Regions from separate parts of the Homo sapiens genome. Here all the other regions are linked to region 3. The links are contacts of gene promoters, found by promoter capture Hi-C in blood cells and fetal thymus (Javierre and others, 2016). All regions are on one chromosome and are shown on one strand. Each heading gives the region's core, a stretch centred on a gene start or on the middle of the fragment in contact. The rest is flanking DNA. Distances are from core to core; before and after follow the strand shown. Region 1 overlaps STRADB (STE20 related adaptor beta). Region 2 overlaps TRAK2 (trafficking kinesin protein 2). Region 3 holds the start of ORC2 (origin recognition complex subunit 2). Region 4 overlaps TRAK2 (trafficking kinesin protein 2). Region 5 has its middle 18 kb from the start of FLACC1. Region 6 overlaps CASP8 (caspase 8).

Region 1 (2,858 bases), core at 291-2,790, 490 kb before region 3:
GGCTAGAGTGCAGTGGTGCAATCTTGGCTTGATGCAACCTCTGCCTCCTGGGTTCAAGCAATTCTCCTGCCTCAACTTCCTGAGTAGCTGGGATTACAGGCACCTGCCACCACGCCCCGCTAATTTTTGTATTTTTAGTAGAGATGGGATTTCACCATGTTGGCCAGGCTGGTTTCAGACTCCTGACCTCAATCAAGTGTTCCGCCCACCTCAGCCTTCCAAAGTGCTGGGATTATAGGCGTGAGCCACCACAGCCATTTCAGAATTTTTCATTTCAAGCATCTTATTTTTATATTAACATTAAAGTACAATATCAAATGAGTCTCTTAAGATATGTCTACCTATGTCTACTTAACACTTTGTAGTCAATTACTTAAATATAAATTTCCTTTTAAGATATGCCAGAATTTCTCACTAATCAAACTAGTCATTGTCCCAGTTAGCCTTCATTACTGATTATTTTAACTTGAATTCCTACAGTCTGTATACTTTATAAATCTATTACAAAAATTTGGTATATATTCCCACTGTTTTATGTAAAACTCACCCTGAAGAATAGACGCTAACAATGTCAAGATAGCTGTACAACTGATTCCTCTGCAGAGTTTCTAATGGCTTCCTAGGGTGAATAACATTTATAATAAAACAGTTTTTGAAGATACTTATTACTGTTGTTCATATTGAAAATATCCACCAGCTGGGCAGGACATTTATATATTGTTTGGTATTTATATATTTTTACAACATTTAGCTTGAATTTTTCACAACGACCATTAATACCACTGTGCAAAAGAAGAATTAACAGCAGGCCTAAAACTGCTATTCTTAGAAAATAGCTGCTTATAAGGTTGACCCTTGGCTAGTATCTGGGAACTGGGATTTTGCAGAGGTTCCCTTCATAAGAATCGCTCACTGTGTCTAAACTGTTTGTGCAAATAATACAGTTTATGCTGAACACCTGGCTTTTTTTCTGGGAGACTGGAATTTTGTTACTTGCTAGCAGAGCACGCCTACGTGACAAGTCCCCAATAAAAACCTTAAGTCCAAGTCTCTAATGAGCTTCCCTAGTAGACAACATTTCACATGTCACAACTCTGGGGGAACTGTGCATATACTATGGAACTCCACTGAGAAAAGATTCTTGAAAGCTTGTGCCTGGTTTCCTCTGAACTTCACCCCACATACCTTTTCCCTTTGAATATTTTTGAATATAATTTCTTTATCCATTATCATAATAGCCAAGTAAAAAGTAGTTAGACCTTACAAAGAAACTGAAAGAAGATATTTTTACATATGCTGCTCCTTTGAAAACAGCATTTCTTAGTTCTCAAATAGAGGGTAAAACTTGAATGGGGAGGAATCCTTAAGTAAAAGTATCAACTTTATCCCAACTGCACAAATTTCTCGTTTAAGGAAAAAAAGTAAATATTTCGATTCAAAGAATTTAAAATATTTCACCATTGCAGAAAAATGTGATTTAAAGTTACAATCATTAACGATATAAATCACCCATTATCACATTCTATTATTTTTCACAAAACCCATAATTATGGAATAATAGGCTAAGATATTCTTTTTCCAAAATTTGAAAGCCCTGGGCAACACACAGCCCTTTGAATCTCACAATTCTCGCCTATCAAATGAAGGGAATAGACTGAATGCCCTTTCACATCTTTTCCAACTTAAAAATTGATATAAAATTGTAAATCTTAAGTAATCCTTTAGAGTAAGGGTCGGCAAACTATGGTCCATGAGCCAAATCTGACCCACCACCTGTTTTTGTGAGTAAAGTTTTACTGGAACACAGATACATTCATTCATTCATTTATATATTGCCTATGGCTGCTTTCATGCTAGTATTTCAGCAGAAAAGTAGCTGTAACAAAGACCAAAGGGTCTGTAAATACTATCTGGCCTTTACAGAAAAGCTTGCTGATCCCTCCTTTACAGAATAAAACATTTCACCTCCGTGTATTTTCCAGATATATAAAGCTTCTCTTTCAAGTGGTAATGCTTTACTTTAAACATGTAAGTAACTGTGTTATGTATTTTCCATATTACTAACAATCCAGTCTTCTAACTTCATAGTTCTGCCTCTCAGCCTTGGTAATTGATAGAATAGATTGGCAGGTATGAGTCTGGCTCCAACTTTTTGCAATCTTGGACAAACTGAAAATGAGGATAATGCCACCTGCCCTGCTAAACTTACACAATTTGAAACTATGAAAGAAATATATGAAAGTATTTGTAAACTATAAATCATCATACAAATATACTCATCCTTTTTTTTTTTTGAGACAGGATCTCCCTCTATCACCCAGGCTGGAATGCAATGGCATGATCACAGTTCACTGCAGCCTTGATCCCTTGTTCAAGGGATCCTCCCACCTTAACCCTCTGAGTAGCTGAGACTACAGGCATATGACACTACGTCTGGCTAATATTTTATACAGACAGGATCTCACTATGTTGCCTAGGCTGGTGTTGAACTCCTGGGTTCAACTGATTCTCTAGCCTTGGCCCCTAAAAATGCTGGGATTACAGGTGTGAGCCACTACACGTGGTCTACTCATTACTTTTTTAAAAACCACATTTTAATATAAGTATTCCCTATTCAAATATTATTATTATGTATAAAACAGGATGAAAGTCCTCAAGCTACTTAATCTAAAGTAGATACCACGGATCTAAATATAAATAGAAAACCAGTTGGCAGCTATACCTCATATATACATTGATCCAAATGATTTTATTTCGGTTAAGTCAAAGGGGTTATTTTTAATACTGTTTGGCTTGCTTTTGGTCAGATGGAAATTTGTAAAAGGAATTTCTGAAAGATTTAAAAGATAAGGCATAGC
Region 2 (2,745 bases), core at 25-2,524, 480 kb before region 3:
TATAGTGTGTCATTGCTATAAAAATGATAAAGCACCCTTTTAACACCAAACTCTTTTATGCAGATTTTTTCATAAAGCACATAAGTGTTTTTCTTTAGAATATTCAATCTTAGCTTAACTGTGTTTTTCAAGGCAATTCATTTAGTTGATGTTGTATTGAAAATGTATTAATATCAACTTTGTTCATTAAATTACTTCTGTAACTCAGTGTATTGATATTTTTAATGATTAAGCTTCTAGGTAGTAGGCACGTATTTTGCAAGACTACTGTGTGTCAGTTGCTGTTAGGTTTTGGACATAACAAAAATAAGGTCCCTTCCTTTGAGGAACTTGCAGTGTAGTGAGGGAAGAATGACTAGTGGGCAGCCATCTTCTGGGATCATCCAAGAAAGGGAATCAATAAACACTGATTAACCCATTTATGCCAGAGGTTGCAAATTTTTTTGTGTGAAAAATCAGACTTTGGCGATGACCTTGAGCAGTAGGATATGACTCCCACAAGCTTAGCATTCCAATAATGGAACAGTAGGCATAAATGGGTTAAAAGCAAAAATTACAGTGAGGGATGTTAAGATTTCCTAAACCTTTTTTCCATATTTATAATCCACTTTATATTTCCCCTAGCAATTAACAGTAAAATTCTCACAAAAGAATAGAGGAAGAGCTGTCTTTTCTAGGGAGACAGTTAAGAAAGGACAGAGTGTGTTCATGTTCATAGCTAGGCTAGGTAAAAGAATACCAGGTGAGAAAAGCACTTGCTGACAGTGCCAAAGGAGGAGGAGAAAGCCAGCTAAATCCCTGGTGCTGGAGGGATGAAAGAAAGAGGTATTTGGGAAGTCAGCCAAGGGCAGAAAAACAGGTCCTGGAGTTCAGTCAAACAGACACCTTATGGGTGTTCTGATAACCTGCTTATCTGGTTTCTCAGCCAACAGCGAGTTAGAAAGGGGAGAGGCAAGCTAGCAACAGTAAAGTGTAGTAGTTGATAGCCTCACAGTGAGGGAGGAAACAAAATTAGAAATGGGCTTAAAATCTTAAAAAAAAAATAGCAATTTGGGATTATTTACTATAGGGAGAAAGAGCTCTTTAACTATGGATGGGTGCAGACTTGTTGGGGTCACATATGAGCGGGTTATTTTCTTTTTCTTTTTTCTTCTTTAAGAGGCACTTTTTTTTTTTAATACTTTAAGTTTTAGGGTACATGTGCACAATGTGCAGGTTAGTTACATATGTATACATGTGCCATGCTGGTGTGCTGCACCCATTAACTCATCATTTAGCATTAGGTATATCTCCTAATGCTATCCCTCCCCCCTCCCCCCACCCCACAACAGTCCCCAGAGTGTGATGTTCCCCTTCCTGTGTCCATGTTTTCTCATTGTTCAATTCCCATCTATGAGTGAGAACATGCGGTGTTTGGTTTTTTGTCCTTGCGATAGTTTACTGAGAATGATGATTTCCAATTTCATCCATGTCCCTACAAAGGACATGAACTCATCATTTTTTATGGCTGCATAGTATTCCATGGTGTATATGTGCCACATTTTCTTAATCCAGTCTATCATTGTTGGACATTTGAGCAGGTTATTTTCTATTTTGCCATCTTGGCTACACCACCCAGAAAAAGCTCTTTAAAAGTTTATAATCCTGGAGGATATCACTGTAGTCATTATATTATAATACAGTAATTGCTCTTCTTAGTAATGATCCTGAGTCATCAAATTATTTTCTGTCTGGCCTAAGGACTTTTTTTTTCCTCCCATGGCAGTTTATTGGACTTTCCTCGTTATCATGTGTTAACTTCAGGAGGAAAACATCTTACCATCAATGTTTTTTAAAATAAGAAAACCATGGAAAACCACAAAAAAAAAAAGTATTAAAGATTCTGTGGTATTTTTGCCATCATGTTGTCAATCCCATCTCTAGGGAATGTTTGCACCTTCAGAGTAACCGATGAGCTTAGTTGGTATAGCCCTGCACGTACACCTACTTTACTGATACCCATGAGAGACCTATGTAGACTTTTGTAAATTAGGCTAAGAAAGCTTTCCATTTCCACATGTTCTAACAGTCTCATATTCCTATGCAGTTCATTTTCCTCCCTACTATAGACTACAAGGATGTAATTTGACTACAGCCTGATTCATTCATTTAACAGATATTTATTGAATGCCTGTCATTTGCCAGATACTAAGATAGAGGTAGACTTAATTTATTGGAATAGAGATTTATTTTTTATCTATGTTCCATTTACTACTTTTAGCAGTTCAAAACAAGTAACAGAATGCTTCCCAATTTATGGTAATACATCTGTATTATTTTCTTGATATTGTAGAATTACCCACTTAAAAACAGAACCAAAGTCAGATTTGGAGTTGTCTCATTAAGAATTGTGTGATGTACATACAACACACACACAGATTATTCTGCCTCACTGTAAATACACCCAACTCTGGAACCAGATAAGTCATTTCTAAAAGCAAATATAAATTGCTCAAGAACAAATGGTTGGGGGGAGCGGATTACTTGTTTTTTTTCTTCTTCTTCTATATTCAGTAACCACTATGTGTTTTTAAAAAGTGGAGTAGAGACATAGGATTGTAGTAGAATTATCTGAGGCTTTTGCAAACTACACACACACTACTATCCTCACACTCCAGTCCCTTGCTAGTAAAGCTCAGAGGATAGAGGCCTCAGCTTTGGAAAAACATAGTTGGGTTTTATTCCTGGCTCTTAGTATGGACAAGT
Region 3 (2,817 bases), core at 88-2,587:
CCCTTCATAATAACAGACCCAATGCTTGGCATTTTACACAGCTGTTACACGGATTTGGACCTTCTACCTGGAAAATTTTACCCCTCTTGGCCTGTTTTAAATCTATTCAACACAGGGGTTTCAGTTTAAACATCTCTTCCTCCTAGAAAATTGTTCCTGACTCCTTCTGGGCTTTTAATTAGCTACTCCTACCATGTGCTCCAATGCACTTCCCATATCATGGTATTTTTCTCAATATTGTCCGTTCAATATCTTCACGTGCTAGGTAACTACAGTGAATGCAGAGATCGTAGTTGTCTCGCTCGATAATGAATACTTATCTTCTGTTCGCAGAGTACTCTGTAGTTTTGTTTTGAGTAAGTGAATCCAAATGAAACAATACCCTGTTCTTAATACTGTATGGATCCCATCCAGGTTCATTCCTTTTCTTCCTCATTTTCTCTGTCTTGTCTTTTTTATATTTTGGATAGTTGAAGTCAATCATTTTCTCTGTCTATTCATTCTATTTCCCCAGCCTCTTCATCCCACTAGCCGTCCGATCCCATCTCCATATTCAGTGCTTCTCCTAACGTCTCTTCTTCTCCCTACCCCAAACCCTGGAGATGTACAAGATCCTACCTTTCACGCCAAATGAAGAAAATCTTTAAAAAAGAAATGCGAATCAATTTCCATTACCTTTTTCTTCAAAAGGTAGCTGGGAAACCAATGAACACTTTTTTTTTTTTTTTTTTTTTTTTTTGAGACGGAGTTTCGCTCTTGTTGCCCAGGCTGGAATGCAATGGCTCGATCTCGGCTCACTGCAACGTCCGCCTCCCGGGTTCAAGCGTTTCTCCTGCCTCAGCCTCCCGAGTAGCTAGTATTACAGGCATGCGCCACCACGCCCGGCTAATTTTGTATTTTTAGGAGAGACGGGGTTTCTCCATGTCGGTCAGACTGGTCTCGAGCTCCCGACCTCAGGTGATTCGCCCGCCTCGGCCTCCCAAGGTGCTGGGATTAGAGGCGTGAGACACTGCGCCCGACCCCAAAGAACACTTTTTAAAGATTGCTACAAGACAAACAGCTACCACTCAGCCAGCTACTGTGCAAACTTCCTCAGATCCAAACAACACTTCCTTTTCCCTTCCCCGGAAACGGAAAGAAGAAAGGAAAGGTAAGGCCCACAACTCAGGGCCCAAGAATCCGTTTTCCTCAGGTTTCCTGATGGGCGGGGCCGAATGGCCGGCGCCGACTGGACGGCAGAGCCGTCGCTCTTGGCCGACTCCTCTTCCTATTGGCTTCCTCGGGCACCGCCCCCTGAACAGGGCGGGAGATTCGGTGTGCCGCACGCAGGCTTCCCATCCCCCAGCTGGCCTCCGGTGCTCCTTACCTCCCCGGTGGTCGGGCGCGAATTACTGGAAATTGGCTTTTCCCGTTGGGGCCGAAGGTACCTTCCCTGCGGCGGCGACTCAGCGGGGTGTCGTTCGGCCGGCGTGACGCAGCCGGATCGGCGCCAGACGGAAACCTAGCGGTGAGTAGTGGGGTGTCGGGGCAGCCTGCCTCCCTTTTCTGCTTAGCTCGCGGCGTGTGAGGTGCGTCCAGGTGCACCCAGCCCCGCGTCGGAGCTTGGCCCCTAGCGTCCCAAGTCGCGCATCTCAGGACTTTCCCTCGGCACTTGGGGCATGGTCTTTGCGCCTCGCTGCCCCCCGCAGGCTGCCCGGGGGCTCGAGAACCCTTACTGGTGGAGCGCAGCCAACTGGCCAGAGGCTGGAGGCGCAGGCCAAAGTCCTTTAAGACTTGAGGTGAGAGGCTCACTCTGGGAGGACCTTTCGTTAGTCTGCCCCGCAGTTATAGGCCTTTTGTGCAAGGGACGCCTGATACTAACCTACCTGATTCCCAGCTTACGAAGCCCTCTGGTTGGAAAAGGAGAACTGTGAAGATGTGTAACGACAGTGGTAAAGTGCCCTGTGAGGTATGAAGAGGAAGAGATCGCGTCCCAGAACCACTGTAGCTAGAACCTTTGATGTCATCCCAGCCTGGAGGCACCAATGTGTCCTGCCAGCTAACTGATCGGTCACCTTGGAGCCATGCTTGGCTGTAAAATGTTGATAAGCCAGGCTCTTTTGGTAGAGCTTTTTAATTAAAAAGATGTTGAGACGTTACTTTTCATTTTACAATTGAAATCCTAATAGAATCATTACACTTTCCCGCAGTTAAATTGCAATCTGAAGAAAAATAGCACGGCCCTACACCGTTATATAAGGGCACTGCACGTTAAACGGACATCATCACTTATTGAGCAGTTTTTCTGTTAGATGTTGAATGAGTTAGAGATGTACAAGAGATCTGCATGGTTAAGTTGAAGTTTAAAGTAAAAATATCTCAGTGCACTGCAGTAAGGAGCTAAAAAAGAAAAAGGTTAAAGTAAAAATACCGATAATTGGGAGCATTCAGTGATGCTCTTTTATATATCAGGCACATCATTTCATTTAATCGTCAGGACTTTGGACAAAGTCACACAGTTATAAAGTATGGAGTGGAGATTGGAACTCAGGTTTCTCCAATATTAAAATTGGTGTTTAACCACTAATCTATCCAACCTTCTTTTTCAAAGGATTATGTTTTTAAAAATTACAGCAAATCTTTTATTTGTTTTCAAAGGAGAGTGTGTTGCTACCACTTGGTGCAATGCTAACACTTGGTGCTGCAGAATTGCCTTGAAGTAACTCCTTGAAAGGGGTTGGCCTATAAGCACCAAGGCAGTGCCTTGAGGGGTCATAATGGTCACTAAATATTGCATTTTATTGTGTGATTGTTAGGTTTTTTTGTTCGTTTGTTTTT
Region 4 (2,700 bases), core at 134-2,633, 430 kb before region 3:
AACACCTTGATAGATTTTGTATTCGAATGCCTATCTTATTTAGCTTTTGAAAGGTTAGCTTTTTGTAGGCTTTAAGATGATACCCCAGAGAGAAATTCTTCACATGTCTTTATAAGAAAGAGAATAGCTATATTTTACTTGGAAAGGCTTCACATGTCTTTTTTAATATGTTGTTAGCATGTGATTGAGAAGGAAGAACTAAAACTTCACCTGCAAGCTTCCAAAGATGCCCAACGGCAACTGACAATGGAGGTAATGAAATCTTTATCTTGTGTAATTCAGGAGGGGAAAGAGTGACTAGTTTCTTTCATCTTCATGAATAAGAATTATTAAAGGGGAATTACCAGATTTAAAAAACAACAACAAAAGGTTAAGATGATATTATGAGATCTAAGAAGTAAAGCATTTTGGCTGGTTGTGGTGGCTCACGCCTGTAATCCCAGCACTTTGGGAGGCCGAGGTGGGTGGATCACCTGAGGTCAGGAGTTCAAGACCAGCCTGGCCAACATGGTGAAACCCCATCACTAATAAAAATACAAAAGTTAGCTGGGCATGGTGGTGGGCATCTGTAATCCCAGCTACCCAGGAGGCGAAGCAGGAGAATCACTGGAACCCAGGAGGTAGAGATTGCAGTGGGCCCAGATGTGCCACTGCATTCCAGCCTGGGCAACAAAGCAAGACTTCGTCTCAAAAAAAAAAAAAGAAAGAAAAAGAATAAAGCATTTTAAAAGTCCTGTCCCTAAAACTAGTAACGTGGTAACATCCTTCTTGATTAATAGGGAAAACCTCAACTTTATAAGATTCTTTAGGAGTATATCACTCTTTTACCAGCTGACCTAAACTAGCTCAACAGTTTTTAAAATAAGATAAGTTCTAGTAGTAAATCTTTGTGCAGGTGTGTCAGGAGAAGAAGCAAAAAATCTCTTACTTTCTATCTACATAAAATTTTATTTATTAAATATAACTTAGTGATTCTTTAGCATGCATTAGTATCACCTGGAGCCAAGCACAGTAGCTCATGCCTGTCATCCCAGCACTTTGGGAGGCCAAGGTGGGAGGATGGCTTGAGCCCAGGAATTTGAGACCAGCCTGTACAACATAAGGAAACCTTCGTCTCTACAAAACAATCAAAAACTTAGCTAGGTGTAGTGGTGCACGCCTGTGGTCCCCGCTATTTGAGAGGCTGAGGTAGAAGGATCACTTAAGCCCAGAAGATTGAGACTGTAGTGAGCCATAATCACACCACTGCACTCAACCCTGGGCAACAGAGTGATATCTTGTAGGAGGGAGGGGGAAAGAATCACCTCGGAGAGCAAGTTTTAAATGGCGATTTCCAGGCACCATCCCAAGAGCTTCTACTTCAAGTGGTCTGGAGTGAGAGCCTAGAATCTGCATTTTTAATAAGCATCTTCAACCCTGGTGATTCTGATGAACTGGGGCATATACTGCACTTGAAGAAATTTTACAGTTAAAATATACTCTGAAAATTATGTACTCTTTTATCAGATGTGTATATCTAGTTGTAAAGAAGGTTCTGAAACAAGGCACGAAGATCTACTTGTTTAGGAGGATTGAGCACACTGACATTGTATATAACACTTTGTAGGCTCTTGATCTTGTCACTTACAGACTTCAGAGTGATGTTTAAAAAGATTAATATTATACTAAACCTAACTTGACTGTAGCTGTTATACTTCCTCTGTTAAGTGTATGAAGCATTCAATATTAAATTGACAGTTCTGGTAGTCTAGCTACGTTTCAGACTTTCAGGAAGTCACATCCGTGTATAATTTTGGCCAAGACACCCCTCCCTAATTCTGGTAGCTCAATATATATATATACGCTTCTTGCTTAGTTTGTTTTAGTCTTTGTATTGAAATGATATTCATAAAGTTAGCTAGCCCTCTGGGTAAAATCAATACTTATCCCAAAAGGTTTCGGGTTTTTTTTCCCTAATGTTGTTTTGGGAAGGCAATAAAGTACACTACCATCCTTTCTTTTAGCTGCACGAGTTACAAGACAGGAATATGGAGTGTCTAGGAATGTTACATGAATCCCAAGAAGAAATAAAGGAACTTCGTAGTAGATCTGGCCCTACTGCTCATCTCTACTTCTCCCAATCATATGGAGCTTTTACTGGGGTAAGCAACTAAGAAAGATGCTATGTATTTAAAGAAATTTGTTTAAGATTAGTTTGTCCTAAAAGTTTGATGGTTTATGATGGTATAAAACATCTGGAGAAGAGATTTTTTCCTTGTTTCTGGACTCCAATTATTGATTTAGGCCCTAATTTGTATATTGACATCTTCCTTAATACTCTTATTTATTCTAACAGGTGACTTTCCAGATATATTGTATCAATAATACATAAGATGAGCCCTAAGGAAATTCAGTTTAGGACTGTGTACCATAGAACTAGTTAAACTTGGGTCATCCTACCCTAGGCCCACAGCCTGCCACTTACTTAAGTGGTGCTTTGAATATCTAAAACCTCTTTCAATAAATCTTGAGTCTCCTGATATTTTTAACTTGTTAGAATGTAAGCTTCATGAGAACAAGATTCATCTTTGTTTGATTCATTTATAAATGGTATTTTTGTATTAAAAAATTAATAAAAACTTCTGAGTTTATATTAGAATTTGTAATGTTGGTTCAAAGAGTTGTTTTAACAATCTGATTCTTAAACTTCTGTGCAATCCT
Region 5 (2,751 bases), core at 37-2,536, 410 kb before region 3:
TTTCTTTTTTTTTTATAATTTCCATTTTTATTTTAGATTCTGGGATATATGTGCAGGGTTGTTACCTGGATATGTTCCATGAGGCTGAGGCTTAGAGTATGATAGATCCTGTTACCCAGATACAGAGTATAGCATCCAATACATAGTTTTTCAACCCTTTCCCCCCTCCATCCCTGCTGTAATAGCCCCCAGTTTCTATTGTTGCCATCTTTATGTCCTTGAGTAGCCAGTGTTTACCTCCCACTTGTAAGTGAGAACATGCAGTATTTGGTTTTCTGTTTCTGTGTTAATTTGCTTAGGATAATGACCTCTACCTACATGCATGTTGCCATGAAGGACATGATTTCAGGGTTTTTTATGGCTGCATACTATTCCATGGTGTATATATACAACATTTTCCTTATCCAGTCCACCACTGATGGACACTTGGGTTGATTCCATGTCTTTGCTATTGTGAATAATGCTGCGATGAACATGAATGCATGTATCTTTTTGTAGAATGATTTATTTTCTTTTGGATGTATACCCAATAGTGGAATTACTGGGTTGAATGGTAGTTCTGATTTAATTTCTTTGAGAAATCTCCAAACTGCCTTCCAAAGTGGCTGAGCTAATTTACATTCCCACCAACGGTGTACGAGCATTCCCTTTTCTCCACAGCCTCGCTAGTATCTGTTTTTTTGTTTATTTGTTCATTATGAGACAGAGTCTTGCTCTGTCACCCAGGCTTGAGTGCAGTCGTGCAATCATGGCTCACTGCAACCTCAACCTCCTGTGCTCAATCGATCCTCCCACCTCAACTTCCCAAGTAGCTGGAAGTGCAGGTGTGTTCCATAAAGTCCAGTTAATTTTTGTATTTTTTGCAGAGATAGGGACTCACCATGCTGCCCAGGCTGGTCTCAAATTCCTGAACTCAAGCGATTCTCCTGCCTTGGCCTCTGAAAGTGCTGGGATTACAGACATGAGCCACTGCATCTGGCACATATTATTATTACTATTATTATACTTTAAGTTCTGCGGTACATGGCAAAACATGCAGGTTTGTTGCATAGGTATACACATGCCATGGTGGTTTGCTGCACCCATCAACCCGTCATCTACGTTAGGTATTTCTCCTAATGCTGTCCCTCCCCTAGGCACCCCCCACCCCCCAACAGGCCCTGGTGTGTGATGGTCCCCTCCCTGTGTCCATGTGTTCTCATTGATCAACTCCACTTATAAGTGAGAACATGCAGTGTTTGGTTTTCTGTTCTTGTGTTAGTTTGCTGAGAATGATGGTTTCTAGCTGCATCCATGTCCCTGCAAAGGAAACGAACTCATCCTTTTTATGGCTGCATAGTATTCCATGGTGTATATGTGCCACATTTTCTTTATCCAGTCTATCATTGATGGGCATTTGGGTTGGTTCCAAGTCTTTGCTATTGTGAACAGTGCTGCAATAAACATACGTGTGCATGTGTCTTTATAGTAGAATGATTTATAATCTTTTGGGTATATATCCAATAATGGGATTGCTGGGTCAAATGATATTTCTAGTTCTAGATTCTTGAGGAATTGCCACACTGTCTTCCACAGTGGTTGAACTAATTTATACTCCCACCAACAGTGTAAAAGCATTTCTATTTCTCCACATTCTCTCCAGCATCTGTTGTTTCCTGACTTTTTAATCATTGCCATTCTAACTGGAGTGAGATGGTATCTCATTGTGGTTTTGATTTCCATTTTCTCTAATGACCAGTGATGAGGTTTTTTTTTCATATGTTTGCTGGCTGCATAAATGCCTTCTTTTGAGAAGTGTCTGTTCATATCCTTTGCCCACTTTTTGATGGGGTTGTTTGTTTTTTTGTTGTAAATTTTTTTAAGTTCTTTGTAGAGTCTGGATATTAGCCCTTTGTCAGATGGATAGATTGCAAAAATTTTCTCTCATTCTCTAGGTTGCCTGTTCTCTCTGATGGTAGTTTCTTTGGCTGTGCAGAAGCTCTTTAGTTTAATTAGATCCCATTTGTCTATTTTGACTTTTGCTGCCATTGCTTTTGGTGTTTTAGTCATGAAGTCTTTGCCCATGCCTATGTTCTAAATGGTATTGCCTAGGTTTTCTTGTAGGGTTTTTATGGTTTTAGGGCTTATGTTTAAGTCTTTAATCCATCTTGAGTTAATTTTTGTATGAGGTGTAAGGAAGGGATACAGTTTCAGCTTTCTGCATATGGCTAGCCAGTTTCCCCAGCACCATTTTATTAAATAGGGAATCCTTTCCCCATTGCTTGTTTTTGTCAGGTTTGTCAAAGATCAGATGGCTGTAGATGTGTGGTGTTAATTCTGAGGGCTCTGTTCTGTTCCCTTGGTCTATATATCTGTTTTGGTACCAGTACCATGCTGTTTTCGTTACTGTAGTCTTGTAGTATAGTTTGAAGTCAGGTAGCGTGATGCCTCCAGCTTTGTTCTTTTTGCTTAGGATTGTCTTGGCTATGCAGGCTCTTTTTTGGTTCCGTATGAAATTTAAAGTAGTTTTTTCCAATTCTGTGAAGGAAGTCAGTGGTAGCTTGATGGGGATAGCATCAAATCTATAAATTACTTTGGGCAGTATGGCCATTTTCACGGTATTGATTCTTCCTATCCATGAGCATGGAACGTTTTTCCACTTGTTTGTGTCCTCTCATTTCCTTGAGCAGTGGTTTGCAGTTCTCCCTGAAGAGATCCTCACATCCCTTGTAAGTTGGATTCCTAGGTATTTTATTCTCTTTGTAGCAATTG
Region 6 (2,733 bases), core at 189-2,688, 320 kb before region 3:
TTCTTATCTTTCACTCCTATTTTCTATTTTTGTCTTTTTATCCTACTTCCTTAGACTTTATCTTCTACTTTATTGAATTTTTCATTTTGGTGCTCAAATTTTTAATTTTCAAGGAGACTTGCTTGTTCTGTCCCTTTTTCATAACATCTTGTTCTTTCATGGACCTTTAACTAACTCTCTAAGAATACTAAATACCAATATTAAGCATTAAAAAAGGTTGCTTTTTTCTCAACATTATCTTTTTTTCATTCATATTCTGTTTCATGTTTTTCTTGTTGTTTGCATTGCCTCTCATTTATCTAGTAATTTATTTATTTATTTGAGATGGAGTCTTGCTCTGTCACCCAGGCTGGAGTGCAGTGGTACGATCTCAGCTCACTGCAACTTCCACCTCCCAGGTTCAAGTGATTCTTCTGCCTCAGCCTCTGTAGTAGCTGGGGTTACAGGCACCTGCCACCATGCCTGGCTAATTTTTGTATTTTTAGTAGAGATGGGGTTTCACCATGTTGGTCAGGCTGGGCTTGAACTCCTGACCTCAGGCGATTCGCCTGCCTCGGCCTCCCAAAGTGCTGGATTTTCACGCCACCGTACCAAGCTACCTCTCTTTCGTATTAGAGCCTTTCTTCAAATGCCTGCTGACCTTTGGTTGTCCATTCATAAATTGACTAATTAGTCCATTAAAAAGTCGACTGAAAGCTCTGTGTTTGTGGATGTGGCTTGTTCTCTGAGGGATTTCATAGCAAGATGATTGGTTGGGGACCTGATCATTTCATTAGGAAACCTCCAGATGTCATTATCTGTATGTATTTTAGCTAGAGCTTTCAGCTTCTCCAGAGGTAAGTCTGTATCTGCTGCCAGTGTCTTGGAACCAAGTTGGTTTAGAGATCTGACTCCATGCCACCAGCAGGTTTTCTTCAGTCTCTCTGTGTTCAGTAAAATGCTTCATTGCTTCCTTTGCTGGGCCTGGCACACCGAAGTGTAGAGCCTCTCTGGTTCAATTTTATGAGAAAACAAACTTCCTGTTCCTTATGATGGTAGAATAAGAATAGTTGCTGGCTCTATGAGAGGAAGGTATGAATCAGAGGATTGTATAGGCTTATATAGGCTTTCAAAGAATCTTCCTGTTTTCTGCTCATTGCCTCACCTACACTTTGTACTTCCAATTGCTGAATTTTTCCAGGATTCTGTGGGGGTAAATAGGCTTGCCTCCTTTCCGTGTTCCCCTCTGTAATCAGTGAGGTTGTAGCTTTCTCTGTTAAGTCAATTACCTCGACTCTTTTTTTTCAACTCCCCCAAATTGTTGGAAACCTTTCATTAGCTATTGTCTCCTTTCCTGTTCTCTTGATCCTTGTTGGATTATTCCTTTTTTATTCCTTCTCCAGCATTTTGTCCCTGTCAGCACATCAGAGCTAAACATAAGTCATCAGTCAAAAGGCAGTCTCAGCCAGGTGCAGTGGCTCACACCTGTAATCCCAGCACTTTGGTAGGCCGAGGCGAGTGGATCACCTGAGGTCAGGAGTTCAAGAACAGCCTGACCAACATGGTGAAACCCCATCTCTACTAAATACAATTAACTGGGTATGGTGGCACATGCCTGTAATCCCAGCTACTTGGGAGGCTGAGGCAGGAGAATCACTTGAACCTGGGAGGCAGAGGTTGCGGTGAGCCAAGATCATGTTATTGCACTGCAGCCTGGGCAACAGAGTGAGACTCTGCCTCAAAAAAAAAAAAAAGAAAAAATACAGTCTAGCATTAGGAATAGAAAAAAATAACTGAAATGCAATAGGCCCTTGTTGATTTGGAAGCACTTTGGCAAGACTAATACAGTGTGTTGGTTCTGTGAAAAAAATTCTGATCCTTTGGAAATGTGGAATGTTGATTAAAAAAATGACTGTAAAGCAAGTCTGAAGGCACTGAAGCAGGACAGAAGGGAGTCTCTCAGGAGAAATGACTTCTGCAGCTGGGTCTCCTACTTTTACTCATTCAGCATAAAACATAAGAACAGGAACAGAAAAAGCAGGACACACAGACTCGAATGCCTACCAGAGACTAGTCAATCATGGGCCAGTTATAAGAAAATGAGCTGCCAGAAATAGAAGCAAATGTTATTTTAATAGAAATGTTTTAATTTTAAAAGAATACAAATCAAGGGTCCAAAATATTTTTTTCAATACCAAGCGCATAGTGACGAATGATGTAATCAATGGACTTAATCTCTGTGCCTTTTTAAAGGCTTAGATTTGCTTAAATAAACAAATCAAATGTTAGCAGGGACCAGGTACAGGTGGCTGACACCTGTAATTCCAGCACTTTGGGAGGCCGAGGCAGGCGGATCACTTGAGGTCAGGAGTTCAAGACCAGCCTGGCCAATATGGCAAAACCCCATCTCTACTAAAAATACAAAAATTAGCCATGTGTGGTGGTGTGTGCCTGTAGTCCCAGCTACTTGGGAGGCTGAGGCAGGAGAATCACTTGAACCAGGGAGGTGGAGGCTGCAGTGAGCTGAGATCACACCACTGCACTCCAGCCTGGGCAACAGAGTGAGACTTTGTCTCAAAAAAAAAAAAAAAATGTTAATAGGGGCCATTACAGACTCCTGATGATTATAATCAGTCTACATTAATTTTCTAAACTTACCTCCATTTGCAAAACAAATCAATAATTGATGTTATGCCTGATAAACACTATTTCCAAAAGTTCTTTGATCAAATCAAAATTATTAATCTCTCAATG

What was found. Contacts are between HindIII fragments. The CHiCAGO score rates a contact against its expected background, and 5 or more counts as called.
Region 1: a fragment that was not itself captured here is called in contact with the fragment with the promoter of ORC2 in region 3 in 1 of 17 cell types (neutrophils); the score reaches 5.5 in neutrophils.
Region 2: a contact is called between a fragment that was not itself captured here and the fragment with the promoter of ORC2 in region 3, in 1 of 17 cell types (neutrophils). The highest score is 6.5, in neutrophils.
Region 4: a fragment that was not itself captured here is called in contact with the fragment with the promoter of ORC2 in region 3 in 1 of 17 cell types (activated CD4 T cells); the score reaches 5.1 in activated CD4 T cells.
Region 5: a fragment that was not itself captured here is called in contact with the fragment with the promoter of ORC2 in region 3 in 1 of 17 cell types (neutrophils); the score reaches 5.1 in neutrophils.
Region 6: a fragment that was not itself captured here is called in contact with the fragment with the promoter of ORC2 in region 3 in 2 of 17 cell types (neutrophils and total B cells); the score reaches 7.9 in neutrophils.

What each region holds. Positions count from the first base shown.
Region 1 is chr2:201,455,140-201,457,997 of GRCh38, reverse strand. The region is part of intron 2 of STRADB (STE20 related adaptor beta); the gene reads right to left. Among named protein-coding and RNA genes, the nearest start is that of STRADB, 4.8 kb to the right of the region's middle. The HindIII fragment of the contact is 780 bases long and covers 1,151-1,930 here.
Region 2 is chr2:201,438,514-201,441,258 of GRCh38, reverse strand. All of the region lies in intron 1 of TRAK2 (trafficking kinesin protein 2), which reads left to right. Among named protein-coding and RNA genes, the nearest start is that of TRAK2, 12 kb to the left of the region's middle. The HindIII fragment of the contact is 1,540 bases long and covers 505-2,044 here.
Region 3 is chr2:200,962,180-200,964,996 of GRCh38, reverse strand. ORC2 (origin recognition complex subunit 2) reads left to right here and starts at 1,337. Exons shown (of 18, transcript NM_006190.5): 1 at 1,337-1,507. It overlaps LOC105373835 (a long non-coding RNA gene), which reads right to left and starts at 1,565. Exons shown (of 3, transcript NR_187976.1): 1 at 1,367-1,565. RefSeq lists a silencer at 928-1,326 and an enhancer at 2,035-2,104. The HindIII fragment of the contact is 10,169 bases long and covers 1-2,817 here.
Region 4 is chr2:201,392,350-201,395,049 of GRCh38, reverse strand. TRAK2 (trafficking kinesin protein 2) reads left to right here. Exons shown (of 16, transcript NM_015049.3): 9 at 178-252; 10 at 2,004-2,141. Among named protein-coding and RNA genes, the nearest start is that of FLACC1, 36 kb to the right of the region's middle. The HindIII fragment of the contact is 2,327 bases long and covers 220-2,546 here.
Region 5 is chr2:201,374,019-201,376,769 of GRCh38, reverse strand. No RefSeq gene overlaps it. Among named protein-coding and RNA genes, the nearest start is that of FLACC1, 18 kb to the right of the region's middle. The HindIII fragment of the contact is 4,146 bases long and covers 1-2,751 here.
Region 6 is chr2:201,277,541-201,280,273 of GRCh38, reverse strand. All of the region lies in intron 7 of CASP8 (caspase 8), which reads right to left. Among named protein-coding and RNA genes, the nearest start is that of CASP8, 18 kb to the right of the region's middle. The HindIII fragment of the contact is 3,204 bases long and covers 1-2,733 here.